Regions from separate parts of the Homo sapiens genome. Here regions 1, 3 and 4 are each linked to region 2. The links are contacts of gene promoters, found by promoter capture Hi-C in blood cells and fetal thymus (Javierre and others, 2016). All regions are on one chromosome and are shown on one strand. The core of a region is centred on a gene start or on the middle of the fragment in contact, and the rest is flanking DNA. Distances in the headings are between cores, read along the strand shown. Region 1 has its middle 21 kb from the start of OR4K1. Region 2 holds the start of OR4K13 (olfactory receptor family 4 subfamily K member 13). Region 3 holds the start of OR4N5 (olfactory receptor family 4 subfamily N member 5). Region 4 overlaps LOC124903278 (a long non-coding RNA gene).

What was found. Contacts are between HindIII fragments. The CHiCAGO score rates a contact against its expected background, and 5 or more counts as called.
Region 1: a fragment that was not itself captured here is called in contact with the fragment with the promoter of OR4K13 in region 2 in 5 of 17 cell types (fetal thymus, neutrophils, naive CD8 T cells and 2 more); the score reaches 6.6 in fetal thymus.
Region 3: a contact is called between a fragment that was not itself captured here and the fragment with the promoter of OR4K13 in region 2, in 3 of 17 cell types (M2 macrophages, neutrophils and M0 macrophages). The highest score is 7.0, in M2 macrophages.
Region 4: a fragment that was not itself captured here is called in contact with the fragment with the promoter of OR4K13 in region 2 in 5 of 17 cell types (non-activated CD4 T cells, neutrophils, naive CD4 T cells and 2 more); the score reaches 6.7 in non-activated CD4 T cells.

What each region holds. Positions count from the first base shown.
Region 1 is chr14:19,948,868-19,954,613 of GRCh38, reverse strand. No RefSeq gene overlaps it. Among named protein-coding and RNA genes, the nearest start is that of OR4K1, 21 kb to the right of the region's middle. The HindIII fragment of the contact is 1,119 bases long and covers 3,344-4,462 here.
Region 2 is chr14:20,031,689-20,037,384 of GRCh38, reverse strand. OR4K13 (olfactory receptor family 4 subfamily K member 13) reads left to right here and starts at 1,347. Exons shown (of 2, transcript NM_001004714.2): 1 at 1,347-1,447; 2 at 2,404-5,696. The coding sequence starts at 2,627. The coding sequence ends at 3,541. The HindIII fragment of the contact is 9,053 bases long and covers 1-5,696 here.
Region 3 is chr14:20,135,001-20,141,060 of GRCh38, reverse strand. It overlaps OR4N5 (olfactory receptor family 4 subfamily N member 5), which reads right to left and starts at 2,241. Exons shown (of 3, transcript NM_001004724.2): 1 at 2,171-2,241; 2 at 1-218. The HindIII fragment of the contact is 3,856 bases long and covers 1,239-5,094 here.
Region 4 is chr14:19,918,435-19,924,644 of GRCh38, reverse strand. The region is part of intron 2 of LOC124903278 (a long non-coding RNA gene); the gene reads left to right. It overlaps OR4K5 (olfactory receptor family 4 subfamily K member 5), which reads right to left and starts at 4,038. Exons shown (of 1, transcript NM_001005483.1): 1 at 3,067-4,038. The coding sequence starts at 4,038. The coding sequence ends at 3,067. It also overlaps a transcript of OR4K1 not described here. The HindIII fragment of the contact is 1,493 bases long and covers 997-2,489 here.

The sequences.
Region 1 (5,746 bases), core at 2,654-5,153, 85 kb after region 2:
ATAATAGATTTTCTAATTAAATTTATATTTGAACTACTTACCTTTGCTAATGATTTCACAGCCTCTTCTTTCTGTAATTGAGCTAATATCACAATAACAGAAGAGTTTTCCAAGGCCTATTGAATAGCATCTCTGATGTAATTAATTCATTCAACAAATAATTATAGATTGTCTTTTCTGCACCACACAGTTTTATAGACCCTGGAGACAAAGCAATGGGAGAAAAAAATAATAAAAACTGTCCCATCCTCATGTAACTTGCATCCTAAAGCTGTGGGGGTGGGTGGTGTTGGCACAAGCAATTAAAAATAAATAAGTAAAATATGTATTATATCAGTTAGTGACATCTAACTGACATGATATATATATTTATGAATTAAGAGGGGAGAAGTTGAGAGACAGCAAAAAGAGAAAAAAAGATAGTTTGGTAATGAAGATAACTACCTTTGTCAAAGGAAAATATTTATGGAATAGTGCCATGGAGCAAATAAAGCAGAACAAAGGAATATGGACTATAACCAGGTGATCAGTAACAGCCTCACTAGGCAGGTTACATTTCAGAAAGACTAAAGAAAAATGAGGAGCAAGCCTTGAGGAATTCCACTTCAGACCAATAACATAGCAAGTATATGCAATACCTTATTTGTGAAAAATAAACATTCCCTTGGGAAACATCATTGTAATTTTGCAAGTTTATTAGAAATTAATTAAATGAAAATTTAGTTTTTAACCTTATTATGGACTTGACATGCAAAATTGGCTTTTTTGAATAATATTCTCTTCATAGGCTTAGGCATGTTTGTAATTTTAGGGAACCATAAATTTAGTCTCAACATATAGATACATACTAACATTTTCGTTTTTTTTCTAGAACGAAATATGGATATAAAATTGTTTTTCAAATTATGTATTGACATTTGTATCCATATGTATATATGTCCATGTACAGAATTTGAAAACAATTTTATAATTTTAAGTGCATGATGCTAATTTTATCTAATTGTATTCAAAATAAAATTGAAACAATCTGTTTTCTCAAAAAAGAGCCCTTGAAAATGAAATTCATAGCCAGATCCCCGAAGCTACATGGAGCTCCCTGTGTGTCTACAGTCATAGTCAATAGTTAGTTGAGACAGATACTCATGGAATGACTTTCAAATATTGAGATCATTAAAACTATAAAAATTAGTAATTGATTTTTTGGTATTACCTCACAGAATCAGATGCCTTTTAAAGTATCTGATATATGTATACAAAGCCTGACAAAAATGTGCAAACTGATGTGTGTTGAGTCAAAATTGTCTAAAACCATTTCAGTTTGTCTGCAACTTGGTTCTACAAGTACAGGCAGAATTTCTCTAAAATCATTCTAAAAATATTTTTCCATAGTAAGAGATGATCATATTCCATATTAACAGTTGTGGATTAGTCAGTCTTCTTGGAAAGGCAGAGTGTGAATTTCCTCAAGATGCCTTAATATAAGAACACAGAATTTGAGATCAGATCTGGGTTTAATTTCTGGCTTCACTACTTACTCTGTGATAGTGTTTGTTCATTCATTCCAACTTCTTGAGTACCTTTGGTGATTATGGGCCAAAAACTCTGCAGGCCCAGAGAGATAATGATGCCCAAAACAGATAGGATTAATGTCCTTGTGCAATTTACTGGAATTCTCTAAACTTTTGAGTCCTTATTTGTGATAGTGCACATTTCAAAGAGCTGTGTAAACTATAAAGTATATTCTAATTGAAAATTACATAATATAGTTTTACTTTCTTACAAGTAAAGCCAATCTGAATAGAAAAATATTTGCTTCTGAGAAGATTAACAAACTAAGAGACTTTAAAAGACCAAATAAGATTAAAATGAAATATTAGAATAAAGTCATTATTTTCTAGAATAAACCTATCATTTATTAAAACATTGGAATACAAATCTGACAAAAAGGAAAGTAGACACTGAAGAAAAACCACATAGCGTTCTTTACAATTCTCCATTCACCAGTTAGCTACTTCCAACCTTTAGCATTCTTCACCTCTAACTTATTTAAAAAAAGTAAATGCAGTAAACTAGAGCTAGAATTAGGTTACAAATGGATATCATTGTGAAATAGGGGAAGACATTCTTTGATGTTTCATTATTAACTCTACTTCAGATTTCAAATACAGAGTTAAATAATGCCTTGTCTTGGACATCAGGTTATACTGGAAATAAACTTCTCTAATGGGATTAACACCCCATCCTTAGTACCTGATTTGGAAATTAATTGCAGGTCTCTGCCTAAGGTAATGATAAACCGAATGTGAAATAAAACTTCCATTTAAAGGAGAAATGTGAAATTTGTATGAAGTACTTTCTGGACTCAGAAATTAATTTGAGCAAGGAGCTTTAACTAAAAGCATTCTGGTCAAACAGGAAGGAAGAAGCAAAGGTTATAAGGCAAGAGGTCAAATTGTAGAATCTTCTGTGGCTCAAACTCTAGATTGCACAGCCCAGATTAACAAATAGGTACATGTAAAGGTCTTAGTGGTACAGATGTCAGACATGAAAAGAATCAATCAAAGTTGTAGAAGAGAAAGAAGATAGTTTGGTAATGAAGATAATCATTTATGGGAAGAAACCGGCTTCTTACTATGTAGATAATTAAGTTGAATAAAGGCTTTTGGGTATGACGAGATTGATTTAGTTATCTTACAGTGATATGTGACCAATAATTACCTTATTATCCTTACAATGCTATAAAGTAAATATTACTATAATCCTAACTTTGTGTTAGAAGCAGCTACAATTTAGTGCTAAAGTTAGTGTCACAAGGCACACTGGTAGTCTGAAGATTTGAATGTGCAAAGAACATATGTTTAACTGCTACATATTGCTCAATTAAGGATCTGATTACTGAAAACATCTATCTAAGGATGTCTACCTGGTCACTAAAATAATTTATCAGTATTATTATTATTTTAAGAGACAGGGTCTTGCGCTGTCACTCAGGCTGTAGTGCAACTATGTGATCATGGCTCACGGCAGCCTGGACCTCCTGGCCTCAAGTGATCCTCCCACCTCTAAGATAACAAAGTAGTGCCCAATTATATTCTCTGCTCTTTCTGAACTATACATCAACATGCTCACTTTTATCTTGCTACTTCAATCCCATGCTTGTGTTAGCAGTGACAATAATCAGTCAAAACAGCAATAATTCGCTGTTTTGTTTTATATTAGGCTCTCACGCCCAAACCCCAAGTCCTCATGCTCAAAAACACAGGTTGCCTTGACTGTGGTAATAACTTTAGCCCAGAATCCCTTTATCTCTCTGAATGGCAACATGTACAGTTGCTTTTAAGCTTGATGCGATTAAATTCCACATACCAATTTTGAGATAAATCTCAGGAAAGTAACAACAGGGTGAAGAGAAGATGCTTCCAAAACTTTTTAAAAAATAATTTTAAAAAGAGAATCACAGGAGCCTATAAAGGAACTATTTAAATATCATGACACTCCCAAAAGTCTCAGATAACCAATCCCATGAATTGCGAAAGCCAATTAAAAAATGAACTTTGTTAAGTGAATTCATCTTGCTATGGGAGTTATTAACAATATTTTGGTTGCTTCTCCCCCATATCAAGATGGTAAGAACTTTTAAATTGTTTGCCTATAATTGCAAATGAGAACATATGTCATGAGAGAGAAATGTAGTGACCTCAAAGTTTGCAACAACTATATTTGCCCTCATTTAATGTTCTGCCTCTATCCATGTGCTTTCTTTGTCCTTATCTAAAGTGACTGTGCCAGTAAGCACTAGCACACATGCACAGGGCCTAAAGAAAATTAGATCCAAAGAAATATAAATCTGGCAATGGGTCTAAGAAAATTAGAATTTTGCTTTCTCTAATCTTATATTTCTTCCTTTTCTTGAAAATTTTTATGTCAAAGGTTTTCAAATTCCATACCACACAATATTTTGCCAAAATTATCCAATATTTTAATTATCACTACACAGTACTTGACCATATAACAGAATCAGAAAAGAATCTTAGACATAAGTGGGTAAAACTGCCCAGATATAAAAATAGCTTGCTTTTGGATATTGTGGAAACATATCCCATTAGAGCTGTAGAAGGACTTAGGAAATCTACAGAGAAGAGCAGGGGACAAAGACAAAAGTAAATGTTGTGACACAGAGTGAGTGCCCAGGAAGTTTGATGAGCTTAATTGAGGAGAGGAGCCCAGTCATCAGCCCAGACTGATAGATCACGTTTCTTCTTCACATCTTCTCTTTAATTTTCACAGTCATTTCAATTCTTCTGTTTCCAAATCTAGTCCTCCTTTAGTCTCCCTTAACCCAGGTAATGGCATTTCTATTGCCCCAGTGGTTTCAGCCAGAAACTTCACTTCTTCTATTTTCTCACTCCCACTTCCAGTCCTGCTGTACCTTTCTCTAAAATATGCCCAATCCATCAAAGCTTTCTATTACAATTTCCCTTGTCTAAACCATCCCTTTCTTTCTCCTTAAATGTTTCAAAGGCCTTCTAATAATCTCCAACTCTCTGCACTGATTTTTTTTTCCAGTCAATTTCTCCTGAATGCTCAGAGCAGTCTTTAAAAATAAGATAAATCTTTAAAAATAAGATAAATAAGTCAAACAACTTTAAAATGATAAACATGCAGTCATTCCTCTGTATATGTGGGTTCTGTGTCTATGGATTCAATCAATCACGGATCAAAAGTATTTAGAAAAAAACAATTCCACAGATCTTCAAAATCAAAACTGAAATTTGCAACACATCAAGTACTACATTGAATTCACTTAAAAGAAGTGATATGTAGACATCGTATTAGATATTATAAGTAATTTAGAGATGATTTAAAAGTATACGGGAGAATGTGCATAGGTTATATGCAAATGCTACACCACTTTATACAAGGGACTGAAGCATCCATGGGTTTTGGTATCTGCGGGGGTCTTGGAACCAATTCCCCGTAGACACCAAGGGACCATCATAGTCCCCATTGCTCTAGAAATATAATCCAATATCCATAATGAGCCCTTCCTATCCTGTATTTTACATATTAACCTTCAGCTTCATTTCGTCTCACTCATTGGTCATTCACTAAATTCCTGCTTTCATTTTCTGGAACACACAATCCCTTTCCACTTTAGGGAGTTTCCATTTCTCTTTTGTCTGCTTGAATATTGTTTCTTTTGGCTCTTCTATTGTATATCCTTCCCACAGAAACTAAATAGAAGGTTATTCATTACACAGAGCACAGAGAGGCTTTTTCTGAGTACCATTCCCCCCTCTTCACTCCTTTGTTTTTTCTCATCTCGCAACATTATTTACTACCTTCATAACACTCATTAAACTTTTAATTTGCTCATTTGATTTTCTTACATGTCTTTGTTTCTCTCTCCTTTCTGCATCTCCACTCCAAGACTGTGGGACTCATGTGGGTAAAAACTGAGTGTCTTAGGATCACTATCATCTCCCCAACACCTGGCCCAGAACCTAGCAAATAGTAGATACCCACAGAATATTATTGATTCACTGAATAAATGAGTGTACAAGTGGCCATGTGGTGGTTACTTTTTACTTTTCAAAAATACCATAAAACTCTTTTTTTAAAAAATGAGAATGTTATAATGGGGTCATACATATGTTTTTACTGACACTGGCTTCTTTTACTCAACATAATGCCTTTGAGATTCACCCCAGTTACTCTGTGAATCAATAGTTGGTTCTTTTAAATT
Region 2 (5,696 bases), core at 98-2,597:
ATTCTCACTCATAGGTGGGAATTGAACAATGAGAACACATGGACACAGGAAGGGGAATGTCACACTCTGGGGACTGTTGTGGGGTGGGGGAAGGGGGGAGGGATAGCATTGGGAGAGATACCTAATGCTAGATGACGAGTTAGTGGGTACAGCACACCAGCAGGGCACTTGTATACATATGTAACTAACCTGCACATTGTGCACATGTACCCTAAATCTTAAAGTATAATAATTAAAAAAAAAAAAAGAAAAAAAAAGAAAATAATATTGGATTTTTAGGGTGGGTGAGGAGTTGATTATGAATATCCAGGAGAAGTTAGGGATTGATAAGGTAGTTATCACAGGTTTATAAAGAAGAGAGTGATATGATGAAAAATAATTTTTATAGGTAATGTTAAATTCATTCTAAGAATAAACTGTATTTGTGGGGAGATTACATTATGCAACATCTACAAAGTGGAATTCTATACACCTATTAAAAAGTTATGTTTCTATATGTTAATATAAACATATTTAAATGTAATAAGTTAAAAACTCAAGAAAAATAGCTATACATATAATATATAATCTGCAGTCTTAATAAAATGATATAAATATAAATACCTGTAACACTAACACACACACACTGTACTGAAGTGTGTATTATTTTTCTGGAAAGTTATCTAAGAAGCTCTTAAAATGTTCAGTCAGTCTTTCTGTTATCTGTGATGTGCTTTTTTCACATTGGCATAAACTACCTTTTTTTTTAAAAGATAATTAAAAGAAAAAAACATATTTTAACCAGCTTTTTAAGAATGGCTGTTCTATTTCTGATTTTAAAATACTTCAACATTCAATTTGACATTTAAAAATAAATATTGTTAAAATTCCTAATGTTGTGGATTTTTCTGTGGATTAAGTCAGCTGACTTAATCTAGATCCTGAATATGCACTACATAGTTTATTCATTCAACAGATATTCACTTAGTGTTTTTGATATGCACTATTCCAGATGTGGAGGATTTATAAACTTCTTTGTATGTATTTGAAAATTGTTCTCTTCTGTTTAAATGCAGCTTCAAAAATTGGGTTTCAAAAAGAAGCATTAGTAGGAATTCTTAAATATTAGTCATAAAACTGAAGAGAGCTATTACCTTTATAGACATATAAATGAATGGCTCTAATTACATATTTGATGAAATTTAATATTTTGCATCAAAGTTTCTCAGAGTGGGAAATTGGCCAACAGATATGTTTACATAGGGAAAAAAATACATCCCTAGTTGGATAAGTGTTCCTATGGGATTATCTCATAGAAACATATAGCACTATGGTCTCTATTTTTTCTGTTTCTGATGATTGGAAGAGTAAATTGCAGATAACTGATGGGGATACAGGAAAAGGAGATAAAAGGCCATTCCTGGGATTCACGTACGACGCCATCACGAAAGTTTTTTTCCCCTGTCTTGTAAGTAATAACAGCACAAAAAGATGACTACAAATACTTTATTTACTGAAGGTGTTTTGTAAGACCTAGATTAATTTAAAACTATTAGCAACGGAGGCAATTTTTTTAAAAGCTGAACCAATAGAACCAGTTTGTAATAAGCATGAGCCGATGACAAATTTTGTCATAAATTTAGATTATACTGAAAGAACTGTATTTCTTTTACCAACATAAATGTTACATCAAGCTAAGTCATTTTGAAACCTATGACAACCATACACAGGCCAACCAGCTAACCACTACATAGCAATAACCAGGTAAATGAATAAATGAATGCAAGCTGAAAGTGAAATTAGTCAATTACATTTGACTGTGGGTTGTTTGTACACATTGTCTAACCATCTAGAGGAGGTATTTGATGTGAATAATATGAAATGTTGAATGAACGAATTATATAAATATATATAAATATATGAAATGTATGTAATATACATGTTTAATATATATATACTATACATATACTTGACACTTCAAAAGTGTGTAGTGACTACTGCTAATACTGATCTGTGAGGGATTCATGCAAGAATGGAGCATGGAGGAAATAAGGTAAGTTTCTCAGGACCTAATTCATATTTCTTTACCAGAGTCCATTTCAAAACATGGTTCTTGAGAATCCTGGATGTATTTTTGATATCCTTTCCACATTAATAAAACTCAATATTATTCTGTGACTATAAAACTCACCAGAATCATTATCTTATTCATAGAGATCTTTATAGCAGAAAGAGGCATTCGATACCATATAGTCCAAATTCTTTTTTTCACTGAGAAGAAAACCCTCAAAAGGAGAGTTACTTGTCCTGTGTCACCCAGTGAGCAGCTTACCCAGGTGTCCTGTAGAGGTCTTCTGATTCTAATTCATGACCTATAGTTTTGTGGTTTCATGTACTATTAATGTTTTTATTTTTGTCTTCCAGAAACTTATATTCTGAATTCTACTGACTATTTGGGATACTTCTCTGGGCCATTAGTAAAATCACTGACTGACAAAATTCCACAAAAGTAAGGGTCCTTGTAAGTTCAAGTGCCTTGACTGAGTACCAAATGTGGACATCAACATGAACATTTCTTTCCAATATGCATCATTTCCCTACCCCTTATTCTCACTTATTTTGATCATTATGGGATAAAGTTGACGATATGGAAAGAGCAAACCATTCAGTGGTATCGGAATTTATTTTGTTGGGACTTTCCAAATCTCAAAATCTTCAGATTTTATTCTTCTTGGGATTCTCTGTGGTCTTCGTGGGGATTGTGTTAGGAAACCTGCTCATCTTGGTGACTGTGACCTTTGATTCGCTCCTTCACACACCAATGTATTTTCTGCTTAGCAACCTCTCCTGCATTGATATGATCCTGGCTTCTTTTGCTACCCCTAAGATGATTGTAGATTTCCTCCGAGAACGTAAGACCATCTCATGGTGGGGATGTTATTCCCAGATGTTCTTTATGCACCTCCTGGGTGGGAGTGAGATGATGTTGCTTGTAGCCATGGCAATAGACAGGTATGTTGCCATATGCAAACCCCTCCATTACATGACCATCATGAGCCCACGGGTGCTCACTGGGCTACTGTTATCCTCCTATGCAGTTGGATTTGTGCACTCATCTAGTCAAATGGCTTTCATGTTGACTTTGCCCTTCTGTGGTCCCAATGTTATAGACAGCTTTTTCTGTGACCTTCCCCTTGTGATTAAACTTGCCTGCAAGGACACCTACATCCTACAGCTCCTGGTCATTGCTGACAGTGGGCTCCTGTCACTGGTCTGCTTCCTCCTCTTGCTTGTCTCCTATGGAGTCATAATATTCTCAGTTAGGTACCGTGCTGCTAGTCGATCCTCTAAGGCTTTCTCCACTCTCTCAGCTCACATCACAGTTGTGACTCTGTTCTTTGCTCCGTGTGTCTTTATCTACGTCTGGCCCTTCAGCAGATACTCGGTAGATAAAATTCTTTCTGTGTTTTACACAATTTTCACACCTCTCTTAAATCCTATTATTTATACATTAAGAAATCAAGAGGTAAAAGCAGCCATTAAAAAAAGACTCTGCATATAAATTTAAAGCATACTTTTTAGATGAGACTTTTGAAGAGACACTCTCTTGTTTGTTTGAACATTTAAGAAACTCGTTTTTAATGTATCAGGTTCGTGCAAAAGTCATTGCGGTTTTTGCCATTAAAGTAAATGACAAAATTAAAGTAATGGCAAAAACCACTATAACTTGTGTACCAGCTAACAGTTCAAGTTCCATATGAGGAAATAGTAGATGTAATTGTTAAAAAGCAAACACCTTTTTGTGATCTTTTATGGTCAAACACATAATATCTACAGTTTGGCTTGTATACATTTAAATCCCACCTTTATCAGTTTCTCTGGTGCAAATTTGAAGAAAATAAATAAGTTCCCTGTGATTTAGTTTTTTCGTCTATACAACCTTGTTTATATGCATCTTTCATTATTATTTTAGCATGCTCTTAAACCTCAGAAAACACATTATTATTGTTAGGTTTTTTGTTGTTGTTATTGGTAATCTATGTTTAGAGAAAGCACACAGATGACATCTCATCACGGTTATTTATCCAAGTGCCTTACAGGCTAGAAAACTGCATGTTCTGGGTAATCCCTGATTAGTGTGTATTAAATTATACTAAGTTGTTTTCCATAAACACAGTGTGTTCACCATTCTTCACATATTTTGTGAGCCTACAGAATGCCAGAAGATATAGCCAGGCCTTCAAGGAACTTACAGCCTATGGATAGATCGAGCAAACTAAATTGGCAGTTGTTCCATGGCACGAACAGCACTGTTACATGATGGACAGGGTGCTTTGAGAGTGCAGGAATGGCATCTCAATCAGGGCAGGGCAGGAAGGTTTCCACTTATAGTTAGCATCAGCTAGATGGAAAAGAAAGACATTCCACGAGAAAGAAATAGTATGTTGAGAATGCATAGAAGCATGACACAGTGGAGAACCTATACATAATTTCATTGAGCTGGGTCATGGGCTATGATGTTGAGAGATGAGATAGAGAGGTAGGTCAAATGTAGTCTGATCATATAATAGAAAATATAGGACACTCTTTGGAATTCAAAACTGTGTCATGCTGAAATTTAAAAGAGAGACAGGAAGGAAAAAAAGTAAGCATAGACCATTCCTGTCCCAACTTGTACATTGTACTGCTTCTATTCCAAGTTTATCTCCCCCTTCTTAGCTCTGTTCATATTTCTCTTTGCAATCTAGGCAACTAGGCCTGTAACTGACTTGAAGGCTAAAGCAAATTTAAGGCAACTGGGTATGGGAGAAGATGTCTACTGTCTTTCAACTTCAGCATAAATCCAAAAAGAACTTTATGCCTTTTATTGGATATATTATACCTAGTATCCAGAAAAGCCATTCCAGAGACAGAAGATAAAACATTGAGTACTAGGTCTCTAACATGTTATTTTTTAGATCATTTGTTACATAAAGGGCACAGTCACATCAGCCTTAGTTGTTTCATACTGAGCAACCAATTTTATGGAGAAAACATTTTGTGTACAAGTTGAATTATTGTGACCAAGGATCCCAGCCTCAAAATGCATTTTCAAACTTTTTTTTTCTTTCTTTCTGAATCTCAGAATGTAGCCTTGTGTTGTAAGACTTTGTCTCCCTTTCCCACCAGGTACATTCATACACAGTGTTTCTTATCTAATTAAGGACTTGCTTAGAAATCCTAGGGGCCGATTTTGAAACAAACAAGGCAGGGAAACCTGGCTGCAGAATCCTCCCTTGAGAGGGGAATTACTTACAGTTAACCCACCACTACCAGGCCAAAGTCAGGAAAAGGCAAATCAGGCCTCAGGACAGACCATCACTCAAGATAACCTTCAGAACAAAACACGCAGACCTGCACGTTCCTGCACTATTCCCACATATTTCCCATATCTTTTCCGTCTTAAACTCCTTTACTTAGCCCCCAAACGGGGAATGGTCTGTTAAAGGCATGAGCCTGGCCATCCCCCACCTGCTTGCATTTGAATAAAATTGCTTTCCTTTTACCACACCTTGCTGCACTTGTTTTCAGCCTCTGAGCGGGGAGGTGGGCATGGGTGGGTGTGTTGGGGGCTCGGGGTGGGGGGAGGCGGGGGAGACTTCAGCTGGTTATATTTTAAGCTGGTTATATTATATCTAACTAGAAATAGCTCTTTTCTGAACACATACTATGAAAAT
Region 3 (6,060 bases), core at 1,917-4,416, 100 kb before region 2:
CTAACAGATGAAATTCCATGTTACTCAACATCTTTAATCCACTTTTCTTCTTTCCTTTGTCCTCATTTATGTACCTTTTGTTCTGTTGATTCTCAAATTGTATTTGTCACAGAGATGGAGGACACATATGCATTAGATGGGCATTCCTCTGTACAAAATGAGTTCCCGAAAAAAAAAAAGCACCAAACAATGGATCTCACAGGGGCAAACTTCTTGTTCTAGTCAGATAAGACAAAGAGGCATTGTCAGTGTAGGCCAAGACAGAAACCTAAATGATGGTCACCATCTCTAACCTTCCTTATTATTTCAACAGATATATATATACGTATAGATAGATAGATAGATATAGATAGAAAGATATACACACATACATATATGTACATACATACATACTCCTTTGGCACTGAAGATGCATAAGTGGAGAGGGTCCCCATACTGTCCCGCACAACAGCTTCCAGACTGCAGAGCAGTAAGCATCTGCAGGCAACACTGTGCATATCTCAATTCCAGACTGTTTTCAGACCAGCTCCTGAAGCCAAGTGTCTGGGGACCTGATCAACATCCTAGCAGCTCACTCCCTTATCCTTCCTCATTCACTTTATCTTGCTTCTTTCTTATTTCCCATCCTTCCCCATTCTCTTCCTGCTAATTCTGTCTTCATACACTCATTTACAACAATATTTCTTTACATTCTCTTTTAGCTTCTGTTTCCTGTTACTTGCTTTTTAATTTTTTCTTGCAATTTATCTTCCTAATCCCTTGCTTTTCCTCCCTCTTTGCTCTCTTCCTTGTCATTCTCTTTCTTCTTTCTCTCATTTGCCTACATTCTTTCAGTCTTAAGTAAGTTTCACCTTGTTCTTTACACATATTCTCCTTAAATATATTCAATGCCTACCCTTTACTGATTCTGAAATAATAAATTGCTTAACCTGTTCCAAGGTAGAGTGAGCACAGTAGTTAGTTGCTTCCTATGTATTTCATTCCAATGACTTTTTCTACAGACCTAAAGTGCTTTCCTTGCTCCCCAGTGCTAAGCCTTACTTCCTGAATATTATCTTCTTTGAAATTTACTGAGTCTGAATCACTCATTAATTACTTCAGGTTTTGTCACATGTTTTGTCTGTTTTTAACTCATCTTGATAAAAATGAGGCAAGTTATTTTGGTGTTCTAAAATAGGTCTCTGGTTTGAGAATTATTTTACCTTGCTGAGTTACCATATCTGCAATTTTAGGAAGCTTAGGCAAGTTATTTAATACAATTAATGACCTTAGGCAAGTCATTTAATTTTTAATATCTGTATTTTGAATCTATTAAAGAGAAATAATATATTCGCTGTTTTTACTTCACAGGGTAGAGGGAATATGATGATCAAATTAGGTGGTTAGGAGCTAATCCACATCTGTGTAAATGAAGAGAGGAAGCATTCAGTGATAAATACGTTCTAGCAAAAAATGGATACCATGTCAATAGATCTTTTGTCACTGCCCTGGGATTAATTCCAAGGGATATGATAACAGCTTGAATCTAAGTGGATTTCAGAGTAAGAAACTGTGGAGGTTCTAGGAAGGGTCTCAGTAAAGGTTTTCTTATCTAATTCAGACATGTTTGAGAATCATGTCTTTCTTGTTTTAGGATTGCTAACTCTGAGCCTTATATTGCTGGATGTAAGGACCATGTGCAGATGGGGAAACACATGTAACTGAGTGTGGAACCAGAGGTTTCCAAACTTGTGAAGTCAATGAAGTTTGTCTCTGAGACTCAGCCTGCCCTTTTTGACTGATTGTGATTCCTTCACTCTTCCTCCCTTTACCTTTGGTTTAGGATAAAGATGAAATCAGTCATTTGTATTATATACAAATTGAAATCCAGGTGGTGAATCTTCATAATCAATTGGTATTTTTATTTTTAAAACAATAGTAGAATTAAAAATTTTAGCACCTTTAAAATAGTACTAAGTATTAGATAATAGGAGGTTTATTTGAGAAACAGGTATATTTGAGAAAAGTGCTGAACACCTGAATTTACAACTCACCCTTACTCTGTTTCTGCAGCAGAATTCTGTTCTCATAAATTTCAAGGCAGCAGATAACCAAGACAAATAGTATAATTTTTCTTTTTTTTTCTTTTTCTCTATTTAATTTAAATATAAAGAATGATAAAAAATTTTACCTTGCCGGGAGCCAAATGCTACTCTCAAACAAGTGGCTATTCTTTTCTGTCTGATAAAAGGGAGATTAGCTAATTATTTCAGAATTTGTGCTTAAATATATATTCTCATGTTGGAATATTATAAATTCTGAAATCTCTATTCATTTGTAATACAATTAATGCAATAGAGAATGTACTTTGGGGTTTTACCGCTACCTGAATTCTGCAGAGTTCTACCAATGGGAATTATTAGACTGCCAATTAGAATTAGACAAAGAAAGAGACAAGAACATTTTAAAGATTAAATATTCAAAACACATGCCAGTGAATACCCCATTGAATCATGTTAGGGTTTTGAATTTGGTATTTTATCAGTGGCAGTGATAATGGAATGTCCCATACACTTATTAGGCAAAATGATTAATGATTAATTCAATGTTAATAATGCTTCATTTAACTCAGTATATCTAAATTATTATCATTTCAAAGTTTGTCTTTAAATAAAAAGAACTTTATGCATCTTGTAGACCAGTTCCTCCAGGGGAGTGCCCCTCAAGTAAAAGAAGAAATACTCTATTGTATTATTGGTTTTTTTGAATATATGGTTCCTAAGCCCTGCTATAGGATAATGAGCTTTCTGGTTTTTAATGAAATAATATAACATAAAAATATCTAATCATACAAGAAAAAAATCAATGTAAGTTTTTTTTGTAACACATTATAAAGAAAGATGCCATTCCTCAGAGTCACATTAAAATTAAAATACCAAACTTAAATTTAATAAAGCAAATTCAATACACAGTCAAGTATGCTTTCATTCATGTTTATGCCCAGCTCAGCCAGAGATGCAGTCAGAGATGTTTAAAAGTGGACAGAGATGAAGAGAGGTAGATAACATTTTAGCAGGTTTCTTTCCTATTATGATCAGTGCTGCAACTTCTAACATATACCATTTTCCTTGGGTGAAAGCATAGCAGTATAATACAGTCCCAGAAAGATACAAAGTTAGAAATACAAGATAATTGCAAGAGAGAGAACAGAGGCAAAAAAGAGAAAAAGCATACACAAAAAAATAGGAGAAAAGATGGATAGAAAGAGAAACAATGCCCACAGAGATGCTTGTACCACAAAGCCGTAAACACAGGTTTAGAAAAAAAAAAAGACAGGATAAGAGAAGGGAATGGATGGAGAGAGAAAGATAGAGTGGTAAAGATATTTCTGAGAATGCAAATTATTTTGTTTTGTTTTTGTTTTTTATTTTTCACTTTAGTTTTGTTTTATGCAATTAAGGGACTTCCCAGGGATGTCACTTCTCAATATTGACAACAATGCTTTAGAATTAGTTAGAAGAAGATATTTTAACTGAGATATTAACTAGTGCAAAATAGACCTTTCCCCTCTGCTGAGAATGCTTTTTCATCTTAGGCAATTTTATACTATTAAAAAGAAAGATGTATGTTTGTGTGAATGTCTGTGTGTTTTAAAAGATGTATCTCAGAGTGGCCTGAACTAGCTTTCTAAACAAGGCATCCAAATGTGGTGAAACTAGCACAAGACTGGAGCTCAAAAGACAAGTTTGCAGTCCTGGTTCCAACCATGATGGTTCTGTTTTTTGAGAAAATGTCAAAAACTTCCTCCGATGTTTTGTCATCTAAAAAACTGAAAATATATTTCCTTACTTTACAAAAGGTTTTAGGTGTTTATCATTTGGAAAACTTATTACATAGGTAAGTGATTAGGCACTGGTTATTATATACAAGGTCCTCGGTCTCAGGGATTTGACATTCCAGTGGAGGGAGCCAGACAAAGAACAACAACAACAACAAAAAAGACAGTAAAATGTGGGAGAATGAAAGAATATAACAGAGGGATGTGTTGGAGGGTGAATGAGGGCGGGGGGTGGTGCTGTTATTTTAGATTGAGTAGTTAGAAAAGTTATCCCTGAGGAGCTGAAAGTTAAGCTGAGGTTTGAATGACTAGGGTAGGGCATTTCAGGCAATGTGAAGAACGAGAATGGAGACTGTGGAAGAGGATTGAGCTGGTACAGTAAGGCACAGAAAGGAGACCATCATGATGAGGAAATGGTGAGCATAAGAAGGAAAAGTATAAGGCAACATTAGAGAGGTAGGCAGATGTTATCCAGCTCATGGCATTTGGAGGTTATTCTCAGTGTGTAATTATAATGTCAACAATTGTAATCTTCAGGTCGTTCTGGCTATTGTGTGGAGAATGGGTTTGAGGGAGGCAAGTATAGGAGCAAGGAGAACAGTTTGAAGATGTTGCAGTACCAAGTACAAAAGATGATGTTGGTAACTTTGCCTGGTGGAGAGTGGGAGGAGGAGACCGTAGTAAGAAGAATTCAGAGAACTTGACATGTATTTTGATGGTGGAGACATTTAGACTTGCTGATAGACACGATGTCTTAAAAACTCCTAAGATTTTAGATGAAATAGCTATGTATGGAAGTGTAATTTATTAACATTATGAAGACCCAAACAAGATAAGGTGGTGATTGGAAAAAAACTATGCTTTTTTAAAGGTACATTTAATTTTCACATAGGAAATATATTTGCATGGTTAAGCATTTTTAAAAAGTAGAAATGAGGCCACTTTTTTTGCACCTACCACAATTAGTTTATTCTCAATTTATTCAAAGAGATTCTTTAGAAAAAAAATACATGCTGAGCTATTCTATTAAAAATATTTGTTTATAATCCTTTAATTTGAGTGGCAGTTTTCTCAGACATAAAGCCACTGAGTTATATTTTCTTGCCTGAAAAATTTGTAGGTTTTGACCCAGTGCCACTTCCATTTTAAAAATGCTAGTTAATTATTTTCTGGAGAAATGTATGAGTGACAGTCCTATGATGTTTTGTCATCTACAAAATTGAAAATGTATTTCCTTACTTTACAAAAAGTTTTGGGTGTTTTTCATTTGGAAAGCTTACTACATAGGTAAGCAATTAGGGACTGATTATTAAAGGTCCTTGGTCTCAGGGATTTGACATGCCAGTGGAGTTGACATTCCAGCAACTAGATTGCTACTCAGTGAGAACCTTATAGGTAATACCTCTCTAAATCCTGGTAATGAAAACCTCTTTCTCTGGGATGGTTTTCATTTTCTTCTTTGTATGTTTCATGTTATTAATTTTAGTAAAATGAGATTTTAGTTTGTACTTTAAGAAATAGTATCACTAGTTTATTTTGAAAAATAAATTGTATCAATGTTTACAAAACCTAATAGCAAACAGTCATATTTTGCTCAGGATAGCAAACAAGGCACAAATAGGTGCCAAATAGATTCCAGTGTTTCAGACAAGTCAGTTCTTGATAGTGTAACATGATGTTTGATTAAAAATTTTATTTTATTTAATGGTAAATTACTGATATTGAACACAGATGGTAATCAGTAATTTAAAAAAAAGTAGAGGAGAAACCCACCCAAATTTAAAATCACATTGATAAAACTTAGAGAATTGGGGGAATCTTTGTTTTACAGGCAGGTTGACTGGCTAATTTGGAGGCAGCAATACAAATTAAAGGACTAGCTATGGGCTGTTCTCTAACATCTATACTTATTTGCATATTCTTGGGATGCAGGGTGGGTTCAACATAGGCAAATCAATAACTGTGATTCACCATATAAACAGAATTAAAAACAAAAATGGTATAATCATCTTAATGACACAGAAAAAGCTTTTGATACAGTTCATCATTGGTTCATGAGAAAAACACTCAAGAAACTAGGCATTTATAGAAGGAACATACCTCAAAATAATAAGATCCATTTATGTCATACCCACTGCCAACATCTTACTGAATGGGAAAAAGCTGGAAGCATTCCCCTTGAGAAATGGAACAAGACAAGGATGTCTATTCTCATCATTCCTATTCAACATAGTGCTGGGAAA
Region 4 (6,210 bases), core at 494-2,993, 110 kb after region 2:
AGGAATAGCTACACCGTCTTCCACGATGATTGAACTAATTTACACTCTCACCAACAGTGTAAAAGCATTCCTATTTCTCCACAGTTTCACCAGCATCTAATGCAAATCAAAACCACAATGAAATACCATCTCACACCAGTCAGGATGGCGATTATTAAAAAGTCAAGAAATAAATTTGAGTTTACCAAATGATAGCATTCACTTTATAAATGCTATCTTTTTTTTTTTTTTTTTTTTTTTTTTTGATACGGAGTTTTGCTCTTGTTGCCCAGGCTGGAGTGCAATGGCGCGATCTCGGCTCACCACAACCTCCGCCTCCCAAGTTCAAGCGATTCTCCTGCCTCAGCCTCCCGAGTAGCTGGGACTATAGGCATGTGCCACCATGCCCGGCTAATTTTGTATTTTTAGTAGAGAGGGGTTTTCTCTATGTTGGTCAGGCTGGTCTTGAATTCCTGACCTCAGGTTATCCGCCCACTTCGGCCTCCCAAAGTGCTAGGATTACAGGCGTGAGCCACCGCACCCAGCCCTATCATTTTTTATATTTTCAAGCATGTCATAGATGAATTTCACTTTAGTGCATAAATAGATGAAGCTACTGACTTTTTTTTATTCAACTGGCTCCTGATTTCTCTCATTAACATATTTGATGAGATGCTTCTGATTTTTCGATACCTTCAAAATACTTAAAAGTATCTGTATCTGTCAGAGTCTAGTCAGGAGACAGAACCCACATGAGTAATTTGAACAGAGAATACTTAATATAAAGAATTAGCAACTGGTAATAGGAATTAGCTACTACAAGGAGAATAAAAAGTAACTCTAAAAAAATACCCTAAGAGAGAACTGACATCTTTTACCATACTGTTTTTCTATTTATTAATATAGTGTCTATCTTCACTTATTTAAGTTTGATTTACTAATACACTCTTCATTACTACCTTTTGTTAAATTTTATAATTTTCTCTAAATGCACATCTTTAAATTTGTACATAAGCTTAGAGTATTTGTTGTTTTGCAAGTTACATTTTTTACATAAATAATTGTAATTTTTTGTTGACATATTTTTTCTTTTTCAACATTTATTTGTAAAAGATGTCATTCTCTATAAGTTAATAAATATGTTATATACAATGAATATAATAAATATCTTTGTATGTCAATTAACACATGAATCCAATGCAATTACAACAAAATCCTGAAATAATATTTTAAGAAATCTGACGAGCTGGTTGTAAAATGTTTATAGAACATAAAGGGGATAAACTAACAAAGACACTGAAAAATAAGAGATGAGAGAACTTAATCTATCAGACATCAAGATTTATTTTAAAACTGTAGTAAATTAAAACAGCGTAATATGGGTGCAGGGCTAAACACATGCATTAACGAAACAGAATAGAGTCTAGTAACAAATCCATACATACACTGAAGCTGAAAATGTAAGAGAGGTAGTATTGCAAATTGAGGGAAATAATGAACAATTAAATAAATGACACCAAGTCTGATTTCTACATATTTACAAATATATAAAAATAGATGCCTAGCTCCCAAAATGTACAAAATGAGTTACAAAGCGATGAAATTCTTAAGTATAAAAAGCAATATATGTTTTAATTTACAGAAGAAAATCTAAATAATGTCTTTATGATCTTGACAGAGAGAAGGATTTCTTAAATCAGACACATACACACAAAAAAAGATACCAAAAATGATTCACAAATCCAACCACATTAAATTTTCTAAAAATTATTACAAAGGCCATTTGAACAGCTGATAAATTTTACAACACTCTTGAAATGAAAAAATAAAATAGAGTGATGGGGAACAGATCATTGGTTGCCAGGGTTAAGATCACAGGGGAGACAGCACAGGAAAGTTTCTTTGAAGTGACGGAAGAGGTCTATGTCCTTATTGTGGCTGTTGTGACTACATGAATCTATTTATGCAATGATATTTCATAATACTATAAAGCAATAGTAAAAAAAAAAAGAGTACATGTAAAAACTGATTAAATCTGAATCTGAATCGTCTTCAGTTTACTTTGAAAAAAAAAAATACCATAGGCCTAAAGGAGAGAAACCAAAGAAGAAATAAATGTGGAAGGGTGATGCCCTGCCCAAGGTTGAGTTTCAGAACTCTTTGGAGAGAATATGAGTGAGGCCCCCTAGATGGAGAGAGGTTCTCTGGGTTGCACTGGACCAGATCTAGTCCACAGAAGGTGAAGTGAAGATGGGGATCAGAGAATTTAAGGCCAAGGCTGGCAATAAAACTTGCTGGAGGATGAGTACCACTGGGTGCCTGAACATAAGCCACTGGCAGCTGCACTGTAGGAACAAGAAGAGAAGTGGCACAAACGAAAATCTTGGTGTTGAAATAGTTCAGCTTTCTAGATTCTCCTCTCTTTTCTGCAACTCATAATCTAAAAGGAAATTGGAATTATCTAGCCAATCAGAGGCAGCCCTTTAAATGAAAGGTTTAAAATGGAAGCTTCTGAGTATGTATCATTCCATATTTTAAAGCATTTTAGCTATTTGAAAACCGTATGGGATAGGCATAATTGATTTTTGGGGGGGGGAGTCTCATAACCTAATAATCTCCACTTGAACTTAAGCAGTTATATTAAATTGTAGTTTGGCTATTCCCTGAAGTTGGCAAAATTCAGTTTCAGATTCTTAAATACTATTCATCCACATAGAAGTTTTAGGCATGTTGTTAAGAAAACTCTTAAAACCTGACAAATGTTTGAATGTATGCCCACCAGAGAATTAGGTTCTCATTGATTTTTTTCTTGATATTTACATTTACCCCGTAACAAAAGCAGTAAATGCATACATATTATCCATCTAGTGCCCATATTTTATTTCTAGAACCAGTAATCTAAACAGAGATTTTTCCATGTTTTTATATTTAACTTTCACTTGATACCTAGAAAAAGACTTGTTAATATTCATTAAATGTTCTCTATATTATCTTCTTCACTACTTTCCCCACAATTGAGATACACCACAAAAATACATTAAAATATTAAACAGTGTATTGACCTGAGGAATTTGAAGGAGTTTTGTCTTAATGAAAGGAAGTTCTCACTACTAGTGACATTTCAGAAATTCTCCTTGGCCTCAGGTAATGGTTCACAATTTTCCTTACGGCAGCCTTCATATCCCTATTCCTTAGTGTATAAATAATGGGGTTTAGGACGGGGGTGAAAACAGTGTAAAATATGGCAAGAAATTTATCCAAAGGAGAGATGGTAAAGGGCCACACATAGATGAAGATGCAAGGTCCAAAGAATAATATTACTACTGCAATATGGGAAGCCAGCGTAGAAAATGCCTTTGCCATTGCAGCTGAAGACTTGAGCCAAACTGTAACAAGAATAATGATGTAGGAGCTGACCAAGAGAGAGAAAGTGCTTAGGGAAAGAATTCCACTATTGACCACAATTAGTATTTCAATGATGTAAGAGTCCAGGCAGGCAAGTTTGGTGACTCGAGGAAGATCACAAAAAAAGCTGTCTACTACATTAGGTCCACAAAAAGGCAGGTTCACAGTAAATGATAACTGGCTTAATGTGTGCACCAAGCTCACAGCCCAGGAGATCATTACCAAGACAGTGCATGTCCTTCGGCTCATGATGACCACATAGTATAAGGGTTTGCATATGGCTACATACCTGTCATAGGCCATCGAAACAAGTAGCACCATCTCCCCTCCAGTAAAAAGGTGAATAAAGAAAATTTGGGCTATGCAGCCACTGAAAGATATGGTCTCGTGTGCACTCAGAAAATCTGCAATCATTTTAGGGGTAGCAAAAGAAGCCTGACAAATGTCAACAAAGGAAAGGTTTCCCAAGAGAAAGTACATAGGGGAGTGCAGGCTGGTATCAGAAGTCACTGTGAGGATAATGAGAAGATTTCCCAGCACAATGACTGTATACAACACAGAGAAGAAACAAAAATAGAAAAGCTGGAGTTTTTGAGAACTACAGAGTCCCAACAGTACAAATTCAGACACCACTGAAGAATTGGACTTATCCATGGTTCCAAGCTGCAAACTTGTTCTGAAACAACTCTAAAGGAGGATAAATAGAAAGGAATCAGAATTTGAATTAAGAATACTTTTAAGGTGAGGGATTCTGAGATCTCAGATATAATGTGCATTTGCTGAATGCAAAAATTTTGAAGAGGCCATAATAGTATGTCTGGATAGGTGGATAATAGGAAAGAACTTATGTAAATGTCTAAATAATGCTTAATAATTTAATCAGTATAATTAGAACCCCTTGAGTTTTTGGATAGTCCTTGTCTTTTATACAGTAGGAAATGAGCTTACCCAGGAGCTGACTCATGACAACAAGACTAGAGGAGTGACCTAGAGTCCAGCTCCACAAGCCTCATAGGTTGACAAAAAGTGTTTACATTTGCTTGTCTTGTGGTCATCTTACATCATCAATTATACAACATTCTTAACTTTTGAAGAGATATTCATGGCTTGATTATTATTACATGATGTAAAGTCACACAGATTAACTTTTGGCCAATTATTTTATCTGAGCTTTAATTCCACACCTTAAAAAAGATGGGAGGTATAAAAATACCTACTTTACAGAAAACTTTAGAGTTTAAGCAGAATAACTCATGACATTCTACCATCAAAGTAATTGTATTGCAACATATGATCTTAATACATTAAACACCCTATATTAATAGAAATTTACCTTCGTGCTCCTGCAGGAGTCATTTACAATTAGGCAATTCCTGCTAAACAGATACTATTGAATGTATATTATACTGGCCTATAGTTCCAACTGAGTTTGTCAATTAGTTATCCAATAATTTCTTAAAACACATATTATGGCTTACCTGAATTATCTAAATCCTATTTTCTGTTGATTATCCAAGAGTGGAACCTAAATTTTTCATTTTCTTTGCCTATCAGAATTAGATTTCAGCCCACTTACATTCTCCCTGCTAGAGTTCTCCATGATCTTCTTAAAACATCTTTATAATTAATGCTGGAAAATGAAGTTTAAAAAAAATTTCTGGATAGAGAAGTAAAAATGATTATAAACCTCTCATGCTCTTGAAAATATCTAAAAATTTGCATCGTATGTTTTTCACCCTGTAAAGACATACCCCTACTGTATAAATCTAGTTCAGTTGAACTGGAAAAACTTTAAAGAAGTGCTGTTTTAGGAAACCATATTAGTTCTGACAATTAACTGTTGACAACAGTCATAGTAAGAGGCCTGAGAGAGTAATGATCTAATTCTAGTCCCATGTGAGAACATGAACATCTTTTTCTGCTAATTTATTTCATACAAGAAGCCAGAGTCTTTCCTTTGTCTCTAGGCTACAGACCTAGTCTCTCATTTAGATGAATGCAGTTGCAATCCACACCGGGAAGCCCCACAGTAAACAATCATATTGTGTACTCTATTGGAAGAAGGTTCAGAGAAGCATTCCACTGGGCCACATTTTGGATATACATTATTGTAAACTCTGGAACTACGGCAAACAAAAAGATGACTCATTATAATTGTTTAAAGCATTAGTAACAACAAATCAGTGTCTATAATATACAAGAAGGCAATAACTAAGAGGATTCTGAAATATGATGTAATCACTTTATGCCATGTGTGACTCATTTTGTTCCCCCATTTCTAAAATAAAAGTGTCCTTGCTCAAGTTCATGTATTTATTACATAAAATGATTAACTCTACCTAACGAAAATGTTTATTGTATGAATGTAATGTATTAAGCTAAAAATTGAGGCAGATTTAAATATAGTGAATGATGAATCATAATTTTAAAATTTACAAATGAAGGGCAAAGAGAGCTTGCATTTGTTCAGACGCTGCTAGATAGCATCTACTGTGTATACATGTTTTATCAGGTGATCTTTACAACAGACCTTTGGAAAAGGGGTTACTAAACTGCAGAAGAGAAAAACAAAGATTAGACATGTTTACTAATCTGTGGTCAGACATCTAGTAAGGGTCAGAACATCTCAGTGGGGATTTGAAATCAGATAATAAAAATAATATTTAACATTTACTAAGCATCAAAGTGTTAGGCACTGTTCTGAGCTCTTAATGTATAGTAATTGAATCTTCCCATAACACTGCATGGTAAATGCACTTACTAATTCTATCTTACAATAAGAAGTCAGAGATACGGAGATGATAAGCAGTTTCCCTGAAGTTCCAT